Linked DNA regions of Homo sapiens: region 2 is linked to region 1. Evidence: promoter capture Hi-C in 16 types of primary human blood cells and fetal thymus (Javierre and others, 2016). All regions are on one chromosome and are shown on one strand. Each heading gives the region's core, a stretch centred on a gene start or on the middle of the fragment in contact. The rest is flanking DNA. Distances are from core to core; before and after follow the strand shown.

Region 1 (6,931 bases), core at 1,692-4,191:
CAACAGAGTGAGACTCCAGCTCAAAAAAAAAAAAAAAAAAAAAAAAATTAGAAAAAAGGGAGAGGTAGGTGCTAGGTGCGGTGGCTAACGCCTGTAGTCCTAGCTACTTGGGAGGCTGAGGTGGGAGGATCGCTTGAACCCAGGAGTTTGAATCCAGCCTGGGCAATGAAACAAAACCCTGTCTTTAAGAGAAAGGAAAAAAAGGAAAAAGTGGGGGAAAAGGAGAAAGAAAAGAAAAAAGAAAGTATGCAAAACACTCACCGTCACCTCACACCAATACTCGCCCCACCGTGTGATAGGCTCTTCTGGTAACTTTAATGTATGTGGGGCAACCACAACACCAAGCTGCAAAAAAAAAAAAAAAAAAAAAAATCTCAGCTCAAATGAACTCTGTTTTCATGACTGCCACTCTAGGGAACCTCATAAAGAGGGTTACAGGATTCCCTGCACAGGGATGAATAAAACTGGGGTGTCTACTCTGGCTGATTCCATGGGAGAGAAGGGCATACACCTTCATAGACGGTAGTAGAGAAATTCAATTCTGATTTCTCAGAAAGGGAGGTAGATTCACAAAGAGAAACAGGGCTTGAGGCCAAAACCACTTCATCCACAAAAGTAACAATTCTCCAGTGAGTCACAAATCCCCAGCATTTCCCTAGGTAGACAGGAAATAAATGGAAACCACCACCTTTTCCTATCAGTCTTCAAATTCTATGTGACCATCCTTAGTCCTTAGCCATTTCCTTCCCATATTCCTGCAAACTAACCAAGAATACTTTCCTTAACTACAACTGGATGATCACACCCCTTCCTAACAAAGGGATCAATCCCAGGCCTCCTTTCCAGAGGCAGCTTCCACCTCAGGGGTAGAGTGGTTTTTGGGAACACTCACTCACATTCTTAAAGAAGTGGCGGGCAACTATTTCAGGGTTCAGCTCCCATTTGACATTGTTCTTCATCCCTACCTCCAGGCGACAGCTTTTTAGAAATTTCACTGTCTGAAAGGAATTATGAGTTTGAGTCAAAGGAGAGGAAACATGTCAGGGTCACAGGGTATGCAAGCCAAGCAAGATGGCTCATGCCTGTAATCCCAGCACTTTGGGAGGCCAAGGTGGGTCTCCCAAAGTGGGTCACTTCAGCCCAGGAGTTTGAAACCAGCCTGGCCAACATGGCGAAACCCTGTCTCTACCAAAAATACAACAGTTAGCCGGGCATGGTGGCGGGTGCCTGTACTGATTATCTTCTCATGTGTCCATGTTCTCTCCAACTTGTACGTAAATATCCTTGAAGGCAGAGCCCTCATCTCAGACTATTCCATGGGTTCCCTGATTCCCAGATTGGGACCTCCCTTGGTACTTTAAGGCACTTCACCCAACACATCAGGGATCTCCCAAGAGGTCTCCATACCTGTTTTGTGGGGCAGCCACAACACTTCCCCTTTCTCCCACTCTTGGGTCTGCAATCAGGAGACCTCAAGGGAATCAGGGAGACTCTCAGGGTGAGGTTGGTAAGTCTTGTGACAAATAAACACTTTTTATGTTTCTACTCACCGCCTCACCTGCCTTGGTCTGGATCTTCTCTAATTTTCCTTCTTGTCTCAGCTAGAAAAGAAAGTTAAAGATGAAAAGCAGTAAAAGAAAAATGAGCCCATGTTAAATAGCATCAAACTATTCCTATGTTGGACATTGGCTGGGCTTCTGCATTCCTGTTCTTCTAGTTCCTATTTCATTTTCAAGTTAAGTTAAATGTCAAAGGGAAGGAAGCTGCAAGAGAAAAGAAGTTTTATCTCCCCAAGTCTCTCTGTCCTTCCTTTGAGCTCACCAATTTCTCCTCTTCAAACAGCTTCTTGTTTTCAGGGGATGCATATACAGCCAGTCCCTGAGGAAGGAGTCGATTCCGGCCTAAAGATTTCTTCACTGAGACCAGGTCACCCCGGACTCCAACATCTGTCAATTAGAACAGAGACAGGGGAATTAGAACCATCTAGGAGTCCCTAAAGAAAAGATGTCAAAAAGAGAAGCACCTCTTAGTTTCTCACAGTGCTTATTTTTCCTAAAAGAAATGCTAATTCATATTCACTAGGAACAAGATTTAAGAGACTGCTAATTAGTTTCTTTAGAACTTGATGTATAAATTTAATATCCCCTGTATAGAGGGAGTTGTCGTCCCATGGAGGATTTCAGTATCTGTGGCACAAATTGTCAGGCTCCTCTCCCCACACACTGTTAATGATGTTGCTGCCTTTATGTTTTAATTTTCAATGCTGGAGGCCAGTGTCACAATCACAATAGTTTTTATGGCTTCCTCTTCTCACATATAGAGTTGGATTGTTTCCACAAAGAAAAAGCAAGGCAAATAGTTGAGGGGGACGGGCTAGAAAAAGCTGATGCCAAACCGGACCAGCCTGAGAGGAAGCGCCTCGGCCCGGGCCTTACTCTCCACCGACTGCGTCAGGATGAGCTCCAGGTTTTCTTTGGGCCGATGCTTCGTGTCCTCCACCAGCTTATAGACGCGATGTCGCCGGTGCAGGCGCGGCTTCCGGCCCTCCCCGGCCAGCGGTACCTTCCACCAGCGCTCCACGATGACCGTGCCCTGGCGGCCAGGAAAGCGACGGTAAGCTAGTCTCCACAAGGAACACCCTCTCCCTCCACCACGGCCGCCAGCCCCTCAAGGAAAGCCCGCCACCCCCACATCGGCCCCCTCCAGGTCCCAGTGCGCCTCCAGAAACAATACTCGAGCGTATCTACCCCCTACCCCAGACTCAGCCCTCACCCGATTTTGAGAAAGGCTGAAGTTGCAGGCCAGGTCAGGGGCGTTCCCTTCATGTCGCGGCCGCAGTAGCTCCTGGACGCCTCCCCGAAGCAGCCGTCCAGCGCCCGCCCGCAGCAGAGCTCTGCCCGGGGCCGTGACAACGGGCGCCGCCATGTTCACAGGCACAGAATGAGACCTGAGGGAGGACCCCGGCGTCGGCGGCAGGAAAGGCCCCCGCCAGTGCTGCCTGCGGCGCGCCGGTACGGCTGAGCGAAAGTATGGGGAGCGGGCCGGGGAACAGATGGCACCGCGGCTTGCCTATTTTTGCTTTTTGGCAGAGGTGACGGACGCCTAGAATTACTGACTGATAATGGAATGAGTGTTAGGTGGACTGACGCCGGAAAAGACGCTCTTCCTCTTGAAAGTGTGGGCTTTGCTGTAGCTCCAGTTGCTGGGCTAACTTTTAATTCTAACGTTCTGTGATGACTGGATACTGACCGGAGAATGAATGATGCTCTCACTTTTCCTTACTTCAAATCTACCTAAAAGTGGTAAAGGATGGGATCCCTTGGAAAACTCTGCCAGCTCCAGGAGGAGCCTGACCCTTAATCATTATACTGCAGTATTTAAGCTAATAAAGGAGAATTCTAAATCACAAGCTATGTAAACCGTAGAAAAAAAAGCAACTATGGTAAGGCCGCGACAGTTCCCTCTGGGGAGGGTCTCAGTACTGGACAGAAGACCATAAAAACTGGATGAAAGAAGGTCCATTTGGCAGAGATTATGGAAAGACTGGCCCTTAAACATACTGACCAGTCCTCCTTCCTCCTAAATACACTACTTGGCCTCCTGGACACCGGTCTTCTTCAGTCTCGTTTGCTGATTTCTCCTTTTCTCCCCGCTTCTTAGAATGCCCTCGGGACTCCGTTTTTGAACCTTTACTCTTCTCAGTATACACTCACTGTTGATCTCATCCAGTCTCGTGGCTTACAATACCATTTATAAGCCAATGACTCCCAAATTTCTAGTTCCATCCTAGACATCTCCCAAACTCGTCTCAAATATTCAACTGTTTATTCGTCATTTTCCTCTTACGTATCCAAAGGACACCTCAAAGTTAACTGTCCCAAACTAATTTATTTATTCCCCCCTCGCCCCCAAAACTGCCCCATCTGCAGCCTTTTTCCTCTCAGTTGACAGAAACTCCATTCTTTCCATTCTAACTCTTTTCTCTCATACTCCATCAGGAAATCCTGTGGGTTCTACCTTTAAATTACAGATAGTCCCTGACTTGGATTTACAATTTTTGAGTTTGTGATGGTGTGAAAGTGATGTGCACTCAGTAGGACATCAATAAGTTACATGAAATATTCAACACTTTATTATAAAATAGGCTTTGTGTTAGATGATTTTACCCAACTGTCGGATAAGTTGTCTGAGCATGTTTAAGATAGGCTAGGCTAAGCTATGGTGTTTGGTAGGTGTATTATATGCATTTTCAACTTATGATACTTTCAACATACGATGGGTTTATCAGGACATAACCCTATTTTAAGTCAAGGAGCACTTGTATTTCCAGAATCCAGCCACTTGTCACCACCTCCAATGCTCTACCTTGGAATAAGACACTACTTTCTCCTGGATTACTGCAATAGTCCCCTAAAAGATATCCCTTAATTCTCTACAGTTTATAATTCTATGTAGCTTATTTATAGCAGCCAGAATGATCTTTTTAAAGCATAAGTCAGATCATGTCATTCTTCCACCCAAAACTTTGTAATGACTTCCTCCTTTACTCAAGGTAAAAGAAAAAGGCCATCAGATGGTCTACAAGGCCATACATACTCTGACCCCATTAGCTCCTCTCTAATTTACACTGCTCCACCCACAGTGGCCTCCTTGTTTCTTGAAAACACCAGGCACGTTTCCTGCTCAGGGCTTTTGCACTGGCTGCTTTTGCGTTGGATGCTCTTATCCTCAGATGCTGGCTTGGTTAACAACCTCACATCCTCCAAGTGTTTAATTAAATGTCAGTTTTTTTCAGTGAGAGATCACCCTATTTCTTACTGTAACCCTGACCCATCCCCTTCACATTCCTTATCTTCCTTTATCTTGCTCTATTCCCCCCACCCCATAGCAGTTACCTTCTAACATACTAAACAATTTACTATGTTTATTTTCTAGGTTTGTCCTCTCACTTTTAGAAGATACGTTCCATAGGGCAGGGATTTGTTTTGTTCACTGATGTATCATCTCAAGCACCTAGAATAGTGCCTGGCTAATAGTAGACCCTCAATAAATATTTGTTGAATGGATAAATATGCAGAGGTCTCAAAGTGGCAGTCCCAGAACCAAATTTTGCTTACAATGTTGTTTTTTTATCAACAATTTTTTAGTAGTTGATTTTTTTTTTTTTTTGAGTTGGAGTCTCGCTATGTTGCCCAGGCTGGAGTGCAGTGGCACGATCTCAGCTCACTGCAAGCTCCGCCTCCTGGGTTCACGCCATTCTCCTGCCTCAGCCTCCCGTGTAGCTGGGAATACAGGCGCCTGCCACCACGCCCGGCTAATTTTTTGTATTTTTAGTACAGACAGAGTTTCATCGTGTTAGCCAGGATGGTCTCGATCTCCTGACCTCGTGATCCGCCCGCCTCGGCCTCCCAAAGCGCTGGGATTACAGACGTGAGCCACCGTGCCCGGCCCAGTAGTCGATATTTTTTAAAATTGGTGAGATTTACTACAAAACTGTCTTTCCAGTTTCTGTTCAAAAATCATACGATACAGCACCATCAAGTCTGCATTCTTGCATGGAACTGGATGGAATTGAGTTGTGTGGACTTCCTTTAGATAACGTGTGAGCTTTCCTATTTTGCTACAGCCCTACCCTGCCACTCCACTAATTTCCATAAGCTGTCTAGGCCCCTGAAGGGGCCTAGACAATTAGTTTGCAATTCCTACCCTACAAGGATCCTGGGTTATTAAGGGTAGGGATGATAATAAAAATACTCAACTGGTATGAACTGGGAACCAACTAATCAGGTCACCACTGGATCAGAGCCTTGGAAGAGTCAGATACCAACTCTTTACTTGCTGGATTTTGGGGGAAGGGGAGTGTCCACAGAGGAGCAGGGTGGGTGGGCACAAGTGCTCAGGCAGGGCTTTTGGCCAACCAGTACAGAAGTCTTCAAGTTCTATTTTTTAATCATTCATACAGCCATAACATGCATACTAGTCGAATATGAGCCTTGGATAAGGGATTAGGGTAGATAAGCAGCAGAGTGGAGTCCTGAGGTGACATAAGGGCTGACCCCTTATCCATGTCATAGTGCCCACTGGGTCACAATGCCACCAGGTTGCCTAAACCTCTGCCACCCACCTGTGAACTTCACTTTGCCACAGGGAGGCACTGAACTGAAAAACTGCCTTGTAAGAGGTGTCGCCCCTCTGTCTACTCCCTTTCTTATATCAAGAGGGGAAAAACACGTAACTACCTCTACCCGATCTGGTCACCATACGCCTATTACCTTTACTGTTACAAGTACCGGATCACTCTCCGGGAGAAGATGCTGCCTCGTTGTTATAAAAGGTACTTGTTTTCATCTCTATTTGTAGTTGTTTATATAAAATGTAAGGAAAAAGTAAAAGAATTTGAAAGAATTTCCCAAATGGCAAGAAATAACAACAGAATAGGGGGTGGAAAGCTGGCATGGAACTTTAGAATTTTTCCATCTGGTTGGGCCCAGGAACATAGAAACAGGCTGGACAACAGAAAATACAGAAGATCATGCCAGAGCCTGGTACTGTGTATCTTCCCACCTCAGATTCCAAGATAAACTAATTTGGGTCTCTTTCCCAACCAGCATCACTTATAAGGAAGAGGAGGACTTGACACTCCAGCCCCGTTCCTGCCTCCAGTGCTCCTGAGTCCCTAGTAGGCCTCCAGGAGGGCAAAAGCACCGAGCAGGGTAACCACGACCAGCTTAAAGAACTGTATTCGGTAAGTGGACTGTGAGCTAGTGCTGTGACAGGGCAACCCTTTTCTTGCATACCTTGCAGAGGAGGGACATTAGCAAGTTGGAAGATGAATTACAGAGGTAGATGGAATCTTGGAACGCATGTGTAAAAGCTACTTGCTATATAGACAAGCATTCTGGCCCACAGACTGTAAAATCAAGGTCATACA
Region 2 (7,006 bases), core at 1-2,500, 200 kb before region 1:
TTCTAAGATTTGAGTGTTAGGAGAATAATGTTTCAAAGTTGGTTGCTTTCATCTGTTTTAACTACCAATTTTATTTTTCTTTGAACAGGTGGTGCTAGAAAAGCCAAATGGCTTTAGTCAGAGTCCCACAGCCCTGTACAGCAGCCCACCTGAGGTAGGTAACAGAGGACACCATGGTGGCTCCGCTTAGCCAGGGGCAGGATTGCCTCCTCCCCATCCTTTTGTTTATTGCTTTCTCTCTCTCTCTCTCTCTCATTAAATACAAGAGTAGTAGTTGACATAAAAATTCAAACACAGAGAAATACAAAGAGTAGAAATTCTCCTTCCCCAATCTCTCTCCTTGCGAGTATCCACTGTTAACAGATTGAAGTGGGTGGATCTTTCTAGGGCAGTGCTTCTCAGCCTCAGCTGTTCATTGGAATGGCCTTGCAAGCGTTAAAGGATATGATGCCTGGGTCCCATCCCTAGAGCTTGTCATTTCATTGTTCCAATAGGTGGCCTGGGCATCAGGACTTTTAAGAGCTCTTCAGGTGATACTAATGTTTAGCTAAAGTTGAGTGCCAGTATTCTAGAATATTTTTATATACATAGACAACCATATTTAAATATCATGTATATGTTATATACACACCATATATACATGATAAATATATGTATATAATATACATGTGCTTTTCTCAACTATAAGATCATGGTAAATACATTATTCTTTGCTTGCTTTTTTTTTCTTAACTAAAGAGTATATTATAACCTTCTTTCCATGTCAGTACATATAGATCTACCTCATTCTTTTGAATAACTACATAGTATTTCCTTCCATGGCTGTACTTGATTGATTGACTGATTGATTGATTGATTGACTGACTGACAGAGTCTCACCCTGTCACCCAGGCTGGAGTGCAGTGGCAATCATGGCTCACTGCAGCCTCGACCCCCGGGGTTCAAGCAATCCTCCCACCTCAGCCTACCCAATAGCTGGGACTATAGGGCACGCGCCATTATGCCTGGCTAATTTTTGTAGAGATGGGGTTGCCCAGGCTGCTCTTGAATTCTTGGGCTCAAGTGATCTGCTTGCCTCGCCTCCCAGAGTGCTGGGATTATAGGCATGAGCCACTGTGCCTAGCCTACTTTTTAAATTTTTATAATTATTATTTTTTGGGACAGGGTCTCCCTATGTCATCTGAGCTGGAGTGCAGTGGTGCAGTCATGGCTCATTATATTCTCAACCTCTTGGGCTCAGGTAGTCCTCCTGCCTCAGCCTGGGAGGGACTGTGGCAGCCACTATAGTGGCTGGGACTATAGACACGTGCCACCACACCTGGCTAATTTTTGTATTTTTTGTAAAGACAGGGTCTCATCATGTTTCCCAGGCTCATCTCAAACTCCTGGGCTTAAGTGATCTGCCCACCTCGGCCTCCCAAAGTTTTGGGATTATAGTCATGAGCTACTATGCTTGGCCTCCATGACTGTACTTTATTTGTTATTTTTTGAGATGGAGTCTCGCTCTGTCACCCAGGGTACAGTGCAGTGGTATGATCTTGGCTCGCTGCAACCTCCACCTCCTGGGTTCAAGCAATTCTCGTGCCTCAGCGTACTGAGTAGCTGGGACTACTGGCGTGAGCCACCACGCCTGGCTAATTTTTGTATTTTTAGTAGAGATGGGGTTTCACCATGTTGGCCAAGCTGGTCTCGAACTCCTGACCTCAGGTGATCCTCCCACCTTGGCCTCCCAAAGTGTTAGGATTACAGGCGTGAGCCACTGCACCCCGCCACCATTACTGTATTTTTAAAAAGTGTGTTATTATGTTTTTTTGTGATTATACAATACAAAACATTCATATTGTAGAAAATTTGGAAAATTCAGAAACACAGGAAAGTGAAAGAAGAAACAAATATCACTTGTAATCTACTCAGAGAAAAACCACAGTGAAATTTCATCTTTCCCCGAATGCAAATATATATTTACCATGTGAATACATTGTACAGTATGTAGCATTTCTTTATAATTTTTTTTTTGTTTCTTTAGTTGGGTATGTTTTTGCATTCGGTGTTTTTGGCCCTCAAGTATAGGTTGAATCAGACCCACCCATTAGTTCATGACACATCATCCTCATGGGTCCTGTCAAGGCCTCTCACTGGTTTCAGTTTTTTGTTTTTTGTTTTTTTTGCCTCTCCACCTCCTGCAAGAGAAACTCACTCTAATGAATTCAATATATGGCTTTAAATATGCCTGTAAAATGTTCAGTATACATGATGAACTTGTGCTATATCTTCTTCCCTCTTTGTTCTTGTTTTCCCTGGTACCGTGTTTTTTAGGATCTATCTACATTGCTGTATTAAAATCTAGTTCATTGCTTCTGCCTCCTACATGTACTTTTATAACTTACTTTTTTGCTTCATGTTATATCATATGATGAAATAATATTTTCATGAAAGTTTTCCATGTCATTAAACAGTCTTATGAGAACACTCTTTGAAATAAGTGCATAATAGCTGTGTTCCAGGAACCTTTTAAAGGCCATTGGCTCAGGTGAGGATTTAGGGAAATTGACTGGATAACTCATGACATCTAGATTTGGAATGCTGTGATTCTAACCACTTGCTTTAGATGGGCAGCTTGGACTTTCTCCTTCTTTTGAATCACCATATTTGGCAAATACATTGTTGGCAACAAATTATAATAACACCTGGTAATATCTGTTTGGCCTCTTTCTTCTCACAAGCTCAAAGCTGTACCGGATGTTATCTTACCTAGTTTTGAGGCAGCCTGTAAGGCAGGGTGTGGTAGGGAGTGTACTGACTGCCTCACAGATAAAGAAATGAAGGCCCACAGGACTTCACTTCTTCATTATCACCCACAGGATGATGATGCAGAGACTGGGACACTGTCTTCCTCCAGTGTCTGGTGCCTGTGCAGCAGAGACGGGGGTGAGACCCTACATGTTAGCTCATCTCTAACCACCAGCCCACAGTTGGGTGTGTCTGGGAGAGACTGAGCAGTTACCTCGATGAGACACCTTTTTCCACATCGAATCAGATTCGTGGACTCATTGCATGCTTTTGCCCTAAACCTGTCCATCCATCAGTAACCCTTTATATGCTGCTGTCAGTGCCAAAAGCTGAGAATGGTAAAGGATGTGCTTTTGGACCACTCCCTTTGTGATGGGCGCGACATAGTCCCTGTCCTGTGGGAACTCTAGTCCAAAGGGGAACATGGTCTCTGCTCTCAGAGAGCTGTAGGCAGATAGAGGGAAGCAGGATGCACACCTACAGACAGCATCCACATATTCACCAAGAAATCGATTAGTGGATACATACATGAAATATTACTGAGCATGTCCTAAAATAATTGGGTGTTTTGAGGCTAGCAGGGTTCTTTAGGGTATGAAGGGACAATGTTTCATTGAATAACTCAGAATTCCTGGCTGCCTAAGGTAACTCTCCCCTTGTGTGATGACAGTTCTTTTTTGAGGGTGGTCTGGACGAGATGGTCCAAACCAGTGTGTGCCTGGGAGGGGGGACCTTTTCTTACTGAGTCAGAAACTTGAGGGCTTCCCCTTCCCTTCCTTGTTCTGGCTGTAGGTGGACACCTGTATAAATGAGGATGTTGAGAGCTTGAGGAAGACGGTGCAGGACTTGCTGGCCAAGCTTCAGGAGGCCAAGCGGCAACACCAGTCAGACTGTGTGGCTTTTGAGGTGAGATTTGGGATTTGGGGAGAAGGTGCCCTAAGGGATGGGCTACTGAACACAGGTGCCAGTGATGTCTCAGCTTGGACTTCCTGTCTTTCTGGCTGAGTGCCACAAACTGGAAAGGCAAGGCTGTGAAGCCTGGAACGCTTGTCTGCTTTTCCCTCTCCTGGACGTTTACACTGTTTACTGTCCAAGGCCAGCCCATAGTTCAAAGGTCAGCTCGGGATTCTCTGCTCTGATGAGTTTGAGGGTGGTGCCCATCTGGGGCAGCCGGTGATTCAGAAGTCATTTCTGTCTGTGTCGTGGTAAGAATCCCTGGGCTCTTGAGACTCCGTGCAGGCAAGGACTGCTGCTGACATGTCACCCCCGAGTCTCCAGTGTCTGGTGCAATACCTGGTATTAGATAGGTGCTTCATAAACGTGGACTGGATGAGTGACTAAATCTGTGTTGTTGTAGAAAGAACTGTACCCATCGAGTTGGAGGATTTGGGCTCTAAACTCAGCTTTGCTATGCAGAGCTTTGTGGTCTGGAATGAGTATCTTTTTTTCACTCTGCTGCCAAGCTGGAGTGCAGTGGCGCAATCTTGGCTCACTGCAACTTCTGCCTCCCGGATTCAAGCAATTCTCCTGCCTCAGCCTCCCGAGTAGCTGGTACTACAGGCATGCGCCACCATGCCCAACTAATTTTTGTGTTTTTAGAAGAGACGGGGTTTCACCATGTTGGCCAGGATGGTCTCGATCTCCTGACCTTGTGATCCACCTGCCTCAGCCTCCCAAAGTGCTGGGATTACAGGCACGAGCCACCATGCCCGGCCTGGAATGAGTATATTAATTATTGTTATAATACAGAAATCTATAAATGGAGAGTAAAAGCCCCCTACTATATGTGAGGTCTTCCATATTTTCTAGAAAATTCTTTGAGTATAAAACAAGGTACATGGGCAGTTTTCTTTCTGTCTTTGGAGACAGGGTCTCACTCTATTGCCAGGCTTGAGTGCAGTGGCATGATCTTGGCTCAATGCAACCTCCATCTCCCGGACTCAAGCCATCTCCCACTTCAGCCTCCTGAGTAGCTGGGACAACAGGTGCACACCACCATGCCTGGCTAATTTTTGTGTTTTTTGTAGAGACAGGGTCTTGCCATGTTGCCCAGGCTGGTCTCAAACTCCAAGGCTCAAGCAGTCTGCGTGCCTTAGCCTCCCAAAATGTGGGGATTACAGGCATGAGCCACCACACCTGGCCCATGGGCAGTTTTCCAACTGCTCTGTGTGAGGTTAACCATCTGTTACCTGCTTTTGTTCTTCCACAAGTAATGTATTCTTTGTGTTATAAATATGTTATGATAGGGTTATAGCCTGCCTAGGCATGCTAGGAGCTGGTAAAAAGAGAAAGGCCAGCTTGAACTCTTCATTTTCATGGAACTGAGAAGGAGAATTTTTGAGAAGAGGCTTGGCGGTGAGGAGGAAGGGCACCAAGGATGATAAACTGCTTCTATGTTAGCCGAAGTATTATTTGAACAAGTAGTTTAACCTCTCCAAGCATCTGTTTCAACTTTTGGAAAAAGGGTTAATGAAATACACCTTACAAGTTTGTTGTGTAGATCGAGTGAGGTAATATATGTGAGGGCACTTTATTATTCTGAAGGGTTTTAGAAATATAAAATAGTCTATATTTTTCTTAGCAATCAGTTTAACAAGGAGATTTTCCTATTTTAATAGCTTGGACTTAGGGTAATATTAAAATTAGTTTGTCATCTCAGAACAAAGTAGCTGTGTGGTGAAGAGGTATGTTGCATCTATTTCAGATTCCACAATTTGTATAATTTAGTTGGTGATGTATCAGTTGGTGACCAGCAGTTTCCTACCTTTTCCAAACAAAACAGGAAGAAAGGAAGGTTGAGGCTCTAGCACTGACCAGGTTGTGAATTTTGGAAAAAAATTTCTGCACTGAGAGACATTATGAAGTTGTGGAAATTATAGAAATATTTGCTGGTTTTAATCACACATGGAGGAGTCTGCCGCTCTGGATTTCAGAGCCTGAGCAAAAGTGCCCTGACAGCTATAGCCCACTGCCCAGAATTTAGAAGGGGTTATTTTTCTTAACCCCATAGTATGCAGGACCACCTGCAGCAGTAGGAGATGCTTCTTCTTGCTGGGCGCTGTGGCTCACACCTGTGAGCCAGGAGGCCTCAGGAGGCCTCAGGAGGCCAAGGCAGGAGGATCCTTGAGCCCAGGAGTTTGAGACCAGCCTGGCCAGCATAGATCTCATCTCTACAAAAATAAAAAAATTAGCCTGGTGTGGTGGAGCATGCCTGTGGTTCCAGCTACTTGGAAGGCTGAGGTGGGAGAATTTTTGGAGCCCAGGAGGTGGAGGCTGCAGTGAGCTATGATTGTGCCACTGCACTCTAGCCTGGGCAACAGATTGAGACTTTGTCTAAAAAATAATAAATATGGTACATAAATAATTTTTTTTTTAAAAAAGGAGGTGCTCCTCGGGTCATTCCCACTGTTGGGCTAGGTTGGCACACCTTTTTATAATTAAGAGGTTCCCTTGCGGGCAGGGTTGGCTGGAGCTACAGAGTCAAATGTGGAAGGGGAGTCTATTTTTTTTAACCTTTTGCTCCGACAGTGGGGTGCAAGAATCAGACCATGGCCTTATTAACACTGTGCTTGAGCTCACATCAACCTAGGTGCAGTGTTTATTTATGTACAGAAATGTACATAAATAAACATAAATAAATGTACATAAATAAAATTTTTTTAAAAGGCCTTACTTTTAAGTTCCTGCCTATGGGGATGGCCTATTTCAGGTTAATATGGGTCATATGAAGGCTTGTCTCAGTCTCTCCTAGTGAATTGGACTCCTTGGTCTACTTTTCTGAACCTATGGGTAGGAAAGGCAAGATGATCAATTACCATGAAAATAACTTGCCATTAAGCATGGGTTTCCTGTTCTACTGGCTGCTTGCTGTCAAGAAGGATTTGCAGTGAGAGTGAGTTTGCTCTGGACATGGCTGGTGTGTAGCATGGACACGTCCCATCACACATCACCTGTGCCGTACTTTCTCCTCCCCAGTTCTGACCTTGGGAGGGGCTGGACGAACTGGCTGCTGATGTTCTGTTTTCCCAGGGCTGGCTGCTAGGCTTTCCAGAAGTTACCTGGATTCTTTTTTAATAAATGATGAGCAGTCAGTGTGAGGCACCTGGGAAGCACTGAAATGGATGGTGAAGTATCTGGGTGCTAGCACTGGCTGTCATTCACTAGCTGTGTAACCTTGACTAGGTCAGTTGACCTTTACTTGTTAAAGGAGAGGGTT

What was found. Contacts are between HindIII fragments. The CHiCAGO score rates a contact against its expected background, and 5 or more counts as called.
Region 2: a contact is called between a fragment that was not itself captured here and the fragment with the promoter of MRPL9 in region 1, in 7 of 17 cell types (M1 macrophages, M2 macrophages, monocytes and 4 more). The highest score is 10.4, in M1 macrophages.

What each region holds. Positions count from the first base shown.
Region 1 is chr1:151,760,555-151,767,485 of GRCh38, forward strand. MRPL9 (mitochondrial ribosomal protein L9) reads right to left here and starts at 2,942. Exons shown (of 7, transcript NM_031420.4): 1 at 2,773-2,942; 2 at 2,436-2,592; 3 at 1,822-1,946; 4 at 1,551-1,601; 5 at 897-998; 6 at 262-345. The coding sequence starts at 2,925. OAZ3 (ornithine decarboxylase antizyme 3) reads left to right here and starts at 6,101. Exons shown (of 5, transcript NM_016178.2): 1 at 6,101-6,334; 2 at 6,609-6,745. The coding sequence starts at 6,168. It also overlaps a transcript of TDRKH not described here. RefSeq lists an enhancer at 2,713-3,092. The HindIII fragment of the contact is 8,401 bases long and covers 1-6,931 here.
Region 2 is chr1:151,566,075-151,573,080 of GRCh38, forward strand. TUFT1 (tuftelin 1) reads left to right here. Exons shown (of 13, transcript NM_020127.3): 6 at 89-154; 7 at 3,583-3,696. Among named protein-coding and RNA genes, the nearest start is that of MIR554, 24 kb to the left of the region's middle. RefSeq lists a silencer at 2,699-2,993. The HindIII fragment of the contact is 4,792 bases long and covers 1-3,646 here.